3 separate regions of the Homo sapiens genome follow, and regions 1 and 3 are each linked to region 2. The links are contacts of gene promoters, found by promoter capture Hi-C in blood cells and fetal thymus (Javierre and others, 2016). All regions are on one chromosome and are shown on one strand. Each heading gives the region's core, a stretch centred on a gene start or on the middle of the fragment in contact. The rest is flanking DNA. Distances are from core to core; before and after follow the strand shown. Region 1 has its middle 48 kb from the start of CRNN. Region 2 holds the start of TCHHL1 (trichohyalin like 1). Region 3 holds the start of FLG2 (filaggrin 2).

What was found. The method cuts DNA at HindIII sites, captures the fragments that hold promoters and counts their contacts. A CHiCAGO score of 5 or more calls a contact.
Region 1: a fragment that was not itself captured here is called in contact with the fragment with the promoter of TCHHL1 in region 2 in 3 of 17 cell types (M2 macrophages, total CD4 T cells and naive CD8 T cells); the score reaches 6.7 in M2 macrophages.
Region 3: a contact is called between the fragment with the promoter of FLG2 here and the fragment with the promoter of TCHHL1 in region 2, in 5 of 17 cell types (total CD4 T cells, naive CD8 T cells, naive CD4 T cells and 2 more). The highest score is 6.6, in total CD4 T cells.

The regions. Positions count from the first base shown.
Region 1 is chr1:152,461,020-152,463,719 of GRCh38, forward strand. No RefSeq gene overlaps it. Among named protein-coding and RNA genes, the nearest start is that of CRNN, 48 kb to the left of the region's middle. The HindIII fragment of the contact is 5,711 bases long and covers 1-2,700 here.
Region 2 is chr1:152,087,775-152,090,474 of GRCh38, forward strand. It overlaps TCHHL1 (trichohyalin like 1), which reads right to left and starts at 1,290. Exons shown (of 3, transcript NM_001008536.2): 1 at 1,246-1,290; 2 at 232-389. The coding sequence starts at 369. The HindIII fragment of the contact is 6,885 bases long and covers 833-2,700 here.
Region 3 is chr1:152,358,690-152,361,389 of GRCh38, forward strand. It overlaps FLG2 (filaggrin 2), which reads right to left and starts at 1,317. Exons shown (of 3, transcript NM_001014342.3): 1 at 1,267-1,317; 2 at 58-217. The coding sequence starts at 195. All of the region lies in intron 7 of CCDST (cervical cancer associated DHX9 suppressive transcript), which reads left to right. The HindIII fragment of the contact is 5,522 bases long and covers 1-2,700 here.

The DNA of each region.
Region 1 (2,700 bases), core at 148-2,647, 370 kb after region 2:
CCTTTGGTGATAGAGTTCCAAAGAGTTATTGCACTTATAAACTTTTTATACTAAGTATTGATGCTGGCAACTCAAAAACATCCCTTTTTAAGATTTTTAGGGGCCAAAATTCATACGGACACTCCCAGATGTTAAGGTTTTGACTTCTAAAAAGAGACGAACTGCCTGTATTTTAGGTTTATTTTATTTATTATTATTATTATTTTTTGAGACGGAGTCTCGCTCTGTCGCCCAGGCTGGAGTGCAGTGGCGCTATCTCGGCTCACTGCAAGCTCCGCCTCCCAGGTTCACGCCATTCTCCTGCCTCAGCCTCCCAAGTAGCTGGGACTACAGGCTCCCGCCACTACGCCCGGCTAATATTTTTGTATTTTTAGTAGAGACGGGGTTTCACCGTGTTAGCCAGGATGGTCTCAATCTCCTGACCTCGTAATCCGCCCGTCTCGGCCTCCCAAAGTGCTGGGATTACAGGCGTGAGCCACCACGCCCAGTTCATTTTAGGTTTTACTAACTCACTCTTATCCTTTAATCTGGCCACACAGATACCTTACCAGGTCTTAAGTCACTGTTAAAAAAAATTTTTCCCCAAACGTATCACATATTACCAGGATTGTCTGACTACATGTGTGCCTCCCACAAAGGGCTTAGCCTCTGTGTTGGGAAATGGAGATGTGCTAGAAAGCCAGGCTCGAGCATTGTCTATGGCCATCAGTGCTGTGCTAAATAAGGACTTGTGGAAAGGCGCCCTCTCGTGGGGAATCAGCGAATTAAAAATAAAAGAAGTTACACAACTGTAGCCATAGATACAGATAGATATGACACAAAATCTTCCTATTGCTTCCCTACACGCTCTCTTTTCAATGTCTTTCAAGAACTAAAAGTTTTTAATTTTAAGGATTTCAATTTATCAGTTTTTTCTTTTATAAAATATAAAATAATTTTTCTTTTATAAAATAGTACTTTTTATGTCCTGTTTAGGAAATCTTTGTCTACCCAGTATATTTTCTTCTGTTTTAATTTAGAAGCTGGATTATTTTAACCCTCACATTTAGGTCTATGATCCATTTCTTACAAATATTTTTGTATGGATTGAGGTAGGGGTCAAGGTTCATTTATTTCCCCACATGGATATTCAAATGACCCAGAATCATTTCCTACCATTTTTTTTTCCCCTACTACATTGCAGTGGAGTTTTGTCATAACTTAGTTGGCCGTATATGTATGGGAACGTTTTTGACTTCTTATTTTGTTCTATTGTTCTACTTTCAAACTAATACCGCAGTCGTAGTTACTGCAATGTTATAACAAATTTTGATATCGGGCGGTATAAATCTCGCAAATTTATCCCTTTTTAAAATATTGGCTGGCTGGGCTATTCTCTTTGCTCCTTCCTTCCTTCCTTTTTTTTTTTTTTTTTTTTTGAGTTTCACTCTTGTTGCCCAGGCTGGAGTTCAATGGCGCGATCTTGGCTCACTGCAACCTCCGCCTGCCAGGTTCAAGCGATTCTCCTGCCTCAGTTTACCAAGTAGCTGGGATTACAGGCATGCGCCACCACGCCTGGCTAATTTTGTATATATTTATTAATTTTTTTTAGGCGGAGTCCCACTCTGTCGCCCACGCTGGAGTGCAGTGGCGCGATCTCCGCTCACTGCTACTTCTGCCTCTCGGGTTCAAGCGATTCTCCTGCCTCAGCCTCCTGATTAGCTGGCATTACAGGCGCGCTCCATCACGCCCGGCCCTAATTTTGTATTTTTAGTAGAGACAGGGTTTCACCATGTTGGTCAGGCTGGTCTCGAACTCCTGACCTCGTGACCGCCCGCCTCGACCTCCCAAAGCGCTGGGATTAAAGGCGCGAGCCATCGCGCCCGGCCCTAATTTTGTATTTTTAGTAGAGAAGGGGTTTCACCATGTTGGTCAGGCTGGCCGGTCTCGAACACCTGACCTCGGGTGATCCACCAAAGTGCTGGCAGAGCCAACACGCCCGACCAATTCTTTGCATTTTCATACACGTTTTAGAATTTGCCTGTCAATTTTATTTAAAAAACCCTGCTGGGATGAGAATTTCTTTAACTCTATACAAAAAAGTGAAGATAATTGACATGTTACAATATCAAATTTCTAACTCATAAATATTGAATATTTTTTCATTTATTTAGGACTTCTTTCATTTCTCTCAGTACTATTTTATAGTTTTCAGCCTAGAGAAGTTGCACATTTTCTAACAGATTTATTTCTGTTTGTTTGATGTTTGTGGGTGCTATAATAAATGATATCTTAAAATTTTTATTTCTTATTTGATGGTTGCTAATAAATCAAAATACAATTGATTTATTGTAAATTGACTTTTATCTATCATCCTTGTTAAGTTTAGTTATAATTTTAGTTGTTTTGTACATTATTTTTGATTTTACACGAACACAATCATGTCATCTGAGAATAATAAGTTTTATTTTTTCTAATCTGAATATCTTTTATTATTATTTTCTATTTCTATTGTGATGACCATATTATATTTCTCCTTTACTTTATTAATGTTAATTAATCATTAATTGCCTTTCAAATTTGAAAGAGGTTTGAAACTGTTTCTAAAATAAACTCTATTTGTTGATCAGTTATATGTTATTCAACCAAACACTAATCTAGGTTTTGTTGTAAATGTATTTTAAAGATGTGATTAATATTTGTAATCAGTTCACTTTAAGT
Region 2 (2,700 bases), core at 40-2,539:
TTCAGAAGTCAGCTTTGCAGAAGCAATAATCCCAGTGACGAAAACCTCTTTTTCTCTAAGTAATTGCACAGAGTATGGAACTGAGACTGAAAATAGTTGTTCAAGAGACAGTGAGTGCTGAGAACTGTTAGCTAGGTGTAAAATGGATGGGGATCACATATGCTCATCTTGCTTGGATTATAAAGAAAGGGTGAGTTGGAAAGAATTTACACAGCTCTGTGAGAAGCTCACCTGAAAAAAGTCCCCAAACTCGCCCTGGATGAGTTGTTTCAGCTCTCTGCCAGTCAGTGTTGCCCCGTTACTGTCCTCACTGGCATATTTGTGGAATGTCTCAATTACACAGAGGACATTTCTCAGGAGCTGAGGCATCTTTACAAACTCAGGAGAGGCTGTGAGAAAGAATAAACAAAGCTCATTTTCCAGGATGGGTCCTTCAGGGAGGAGATACCAAGATTATCCTTTTTGTTCCTCCCCCATCTCCACTGCAACCCCTGCTCTATTCTGTATCTTAAAATATTATATCTGAACTCCAGGGGTGATTTAGTATTGTACCAGACATTGTGGTGAAATCAGACCCAGCATAGGTAAGTATTAGAAGAGACAATTCACCCCACTCTTCAGTAAACAGCAACATTCATGTGCTCAGAGAAAGCTTCATTGCAAAAGGAAGGTGATAAGAGAACTCAAGCATAAGGATTGAAATGCATAAATGAAGCCAATAGAGTTGGACCCATTCTTCCAGCCTCATCCAAGAGTGTCTATCTGCTCTCCTCTCCCTTTGGCTCAGTCTAGCCTCCTGCGGTTAGGAGGGTATAACCTTTAAAGTTAGCAAAGCTTCTAGTGGAAAGATAAGTCACACCAAGAAAATTAACCCCTATGTTTGCAGGTGGTAACAACATGCTTTAACCAAGAAGACATGATTCCATGTCCCGACCCCTTATTCATTCATTTCCCATCCTTTAAATGCTTCTACATTTTCATTGCAATAGAGATCTGATCCTGTGCCTTGTTGAATAATATTCATGCCTATGACTTCTAAACAATTTATGTTTTTTTTAAAAAGAAAATGATCAAAGAAGTTCCATAATCAAGGAATGCATTTGGGTGGTTGGCGCTCCCAGTTTATTATTATTAATAGGGGTTGACATAGACTTAAAGTGTGTTTCCTTTGAAATCCTCTTGCAATCTCACATATAAGCAAAACAGCAACTGAAATCCCAAGTATGCTCAAGCAGATGGACTTACCTAGTTCACAAGCGAGAGCAGGTAGAACGTGGGGCAGCGGGCTGTGAGCTGACAGCAGGAGCTGGAACCTTTTATTGAGGTCCTAATTGCACAGTTAAGAAGGAGACACCCTCTGGGTCTAATGACCTGACATCACCACCAAATCCAGTCTCCCCTGCTCTGTTGTCAGTTGTCTTAATTTTATTTCCTTCTTTAGGCAGTTTCAATTAAATCTTAGCTTCAGATGCATCAAAAGAAAGGGGAGGGGGTTTCTTGATTCATTTACTGACTTTTGCAGATTATAGTTTTGAAGGCTCTTCAAGGTAGTGTTGGCTTCCCTCCCCCATTTTTTAACCTAAGGACATAATTACATTTCTGTCTGACAAATCATAGTGCTGGCAGGGACCTCATAAGTCATCTGATTCCTCTGTCTGCCCACAAGATGGCCCGTATTTGACCCAAACCTGAGAGATGGGTGTCAATCATGTGTTTAAAAATAAAGGCCCCCATTTAGCCATGTGACAAAAGTGGAGATACCAGTTGATTCAGATGTTTCAATGCTTTGCTCTCCTTGCCCAGAGGCAGAGTTAGAAAAAAAAAAAAATTCTTGCTTGGTGTGCAAAGCCTTGCTTACCTATGTTGTGCTATTTTAAAAACGTGATTGATATTTGCTTTCTAAAGACATTTTTACTATACAAGGAGCTTGAAACCAATAATCTATATTACTGTGTTCTCCCTGTAAAGGGGAAAGGGAGATGTTGAAATCATCAAGCTGAGAACAGAAGTGAGTCTGAGATGCTGAACTGGCAAACATTTTAATTGTCTCCTAGATCTGGGTCCTTCTTAGTAGAGAATATTTAATAAAATAAGAATTAGATTCAATGGTTTTCTTAGATATTTTTAAAAAATAGAGTATGTTTTAAAACACTCCTTGTCAAAGGATGGAAGAAATAGACAGATCAATGCAAACAAATATAAAAGACACAGACCAAGTTAAAGATGGGGTGGGAATGGGGGTAATTATATGAGAAAGCTGAAGCTAAGGGATGCATTGCTATTGAGCAAAAACCTTATTCTGAATTTCCTGATTATCGAGGAACATACAAGGGAACTAAATTTTGGGGAAAAACATTCATACTGATACTTTACACCTACAAACAATTTCTCAGCATCCTCCCAAAGGGAGAAGACTTCTGGGAATTGGAATTGGCATGTGAAGGTCATCTTAGTTCTGATTAGTTAATATCCCCAGAGTACCAGCTATTTCTCAACACTATGCCAGGAACTGGAGTGTTTAGAGTTGAGTAAGTTATATCTTCCTGCTCTGGAGCTCATGGGCCAGTCTCATGAAGAACTGGGTATATTCAAGGCTGGATTGGAAAGAAACACTTATGGGAGACATAATAACTGTCTTCAAATACTTGAAGGATTTTTATGGGTGTGGAAGAGAAAAGAATTAATGTTTATTGAAAACTT
Region 3 (2,700 bases), core at 67-2,566, 270 kb after region 2:
TACAACAGAGCTTGTACAGGACTCCAGCAGCCTTCAGTTCTGGCACATGGCTCTCACCTTCAGAACTGGATGAAGCTCTTTCTCCAGAAGTTCCTTTAGTTCACCCTTGCTCAGTGTGCCACACTCCCCATCTTGCTTGGTGTATTTGTAGAAAACATCAATTACGGTGACAACACTTCTCAAGAGGTCGGTCATCTTTTTGCAAGTTTAAGTGAACCTGGACACAGAAAAACAAAGAACCCTATTATTCATATTCTCTCCTTTTATCAGCAATTTTCATTTTAATAATAACCAGCATGATTTTTTTAACCTCTTGTTTTTTAAATCTCAAAACGTAAGAATGGGCCAGGGATGATACAACCCCGTTTAACACAATGAAAATTAACTTTGTTAACTTTGAGTTACTTTTCTGTGATCAAGTCTTGGCATGTTACTGGTTCAACTGAGAATAGACCTCAAGTCTCTATATTTCCTGTCATGGGTAAGTATAGTCTCTACATAGTATCTCTACACTTTGAGTGTGTTGGCATTCTGGGTGTTGTTCTAAGGCTTCCAAAATTTCCAGAACCAGCCAGACACCATTGCCTCAATCTCTCTTTCTAGTTTCACTGCTTTTCTTGAGTCAAAAGTGACAGACCTTCCACCATGCACATCTGTTTATCCTCTGGGCACCAGAAGCTAAACTGGACCCTTAAGGCCTTCAGCAAATTAAAAATGGGCAAAGGGGCTCAAAATAGCTTGGTGTTTCATAGGCATGAGACAGTAGAACTCAGTAGAGCTTAGGAACTCTCTTAATGTCAAGCACTTGACCAAACACTGTTTTCTTTAATTAATCAAGAAGAAGAGCTCAGCAATGCAGGCAGCAGTTTAACTAGTGGATAATTAGATCTTGGAGCTCTGGGAACCAACACTGAATAAGGAAGGGACTCTGCAACAGACCCAGCTGCCTCCCAGTTTGAGCTGGACAGCCCAGAAAAGAGGGCATGGAAAAAGACTCGGAACAGACTGTGGAATGGCCTAGAGGAAGGTGAACTTTTACTTGCATTATTCTTCTCCATAAAAATGAACTTAACTACAAAAAGGCCCCAGAATAAACTAAACTAACCAAACAAATAAGCAAACAAAAAGAAAAGAAAATGAAAGAAAGAAACAAAAAAGAAAAGAAAGGCAAAATATACATGAACTCTGCCTTAGCTTATATCCCTAGACTTCTACTATGGACAACACCAAATATTCATAAATGTAGCTGGATGAATTTTCTCTCACCTGGTTCACCAAAGGAACAAGTAGGATAAAGCCTGATGCAGCTTGCAGGGTGACGATGGATTGGGATAATGACCCTTATATAGCTTATAGTGATTATAGTGAATGAGGTGATTCATTTTCCATCAAACCTAACTCCACCTCTACATATTTACCTTCCTCCTTCACATTGTTATCTACAGATGATTGCAGAAAGGCTAGTACCAGCCCCACCTTCCAGTACGAGGACATGGTTGCAAGATACCTTTTTTTTCAGGGTCATATACATGTGAAAAGCACAGACTTTGTTTTAGAGGACTCATGTTATACATTTCTTTTAACTAGTACCCACAGAAAGTAGCAGAGTGTAAGATACTTGGAAGGTGCACAATAAATGCTTATTTAATTGAAAATGAACCTGAGCCACTAGGTTCATCTAATTCATGTCTTTTTTGTAATAATAAAAAGTGACATTTATTGAGAATTTACTATGTGCTAAATACTTTAAACAAACCATCTCAATCTTTAAAAAATCTGCACTTTTAGTTATGGGTACATAGTTGTATATAATTGTTGGGTACATGTGATGTTTTGATATGGGCATACCATGTGTAATGATCAAATTACAGTAATTGGGGTATCCAGCACCTCAAGCATTTCTTTGTAGTAGGAACATTCTAATTCTACTATTTTAGTTATTTAAAAATATACAATAAATAGTTAACTATAGTTACCATATTATGTTACCAAATACTAGATCTTATCACCTCATTTAATCTTCACAACCTTCATACGAGATATGTATTTATTATCCCATTTTATAGAGACAGGTTCTGGAAGCATAAGGATCTTCTCCAAGGTCATAGCTAGTAGGCAGAGAAACCAGAAGTTGAACCTGTATCTACCTTATTGCAATTGCTGTTTACCATTATACTAACTTACCTCTGTGTATTTATCATATATAACTATCATGCAAAAATTATGCACCATTTTAGGAGTGTAAGGCCCACTCAAACGCAAATAATATAAAAAAGTAACATACAGAGTGCTGTTAGGAAGAGAGGAAACATTCTCTGACCTTGTGAAGGCTCATTTCTAGGCTAGAAAAGTGTAATTGGCTATATATAAAAATAATGTTTTCAGATATGTTCAGGGTGAATTTAGAGTGAGCTTTCTTCCAGCACTCTGCGATCCACTGGTAGTCTGGCATGTTTAGGGCCTGGACCCTTGGGAAAATGTTCACTTATGTACAGAAAGTATATCAAATACACTTGAGGGTAACAAAAATAATCAGAGAGCTGTAAGTCTTAAGCATGGAGAGCCAATTCTGCTGTACTTTGCTACCAGGTGATAATGATGATGATGAGGAGGATAGCAGCTACCATTAAGTGCTAAGTGCTTACTATCTTCTATACATGGTAGGTTTACATGCTTATCTATTTATTCCTCAAAATAACC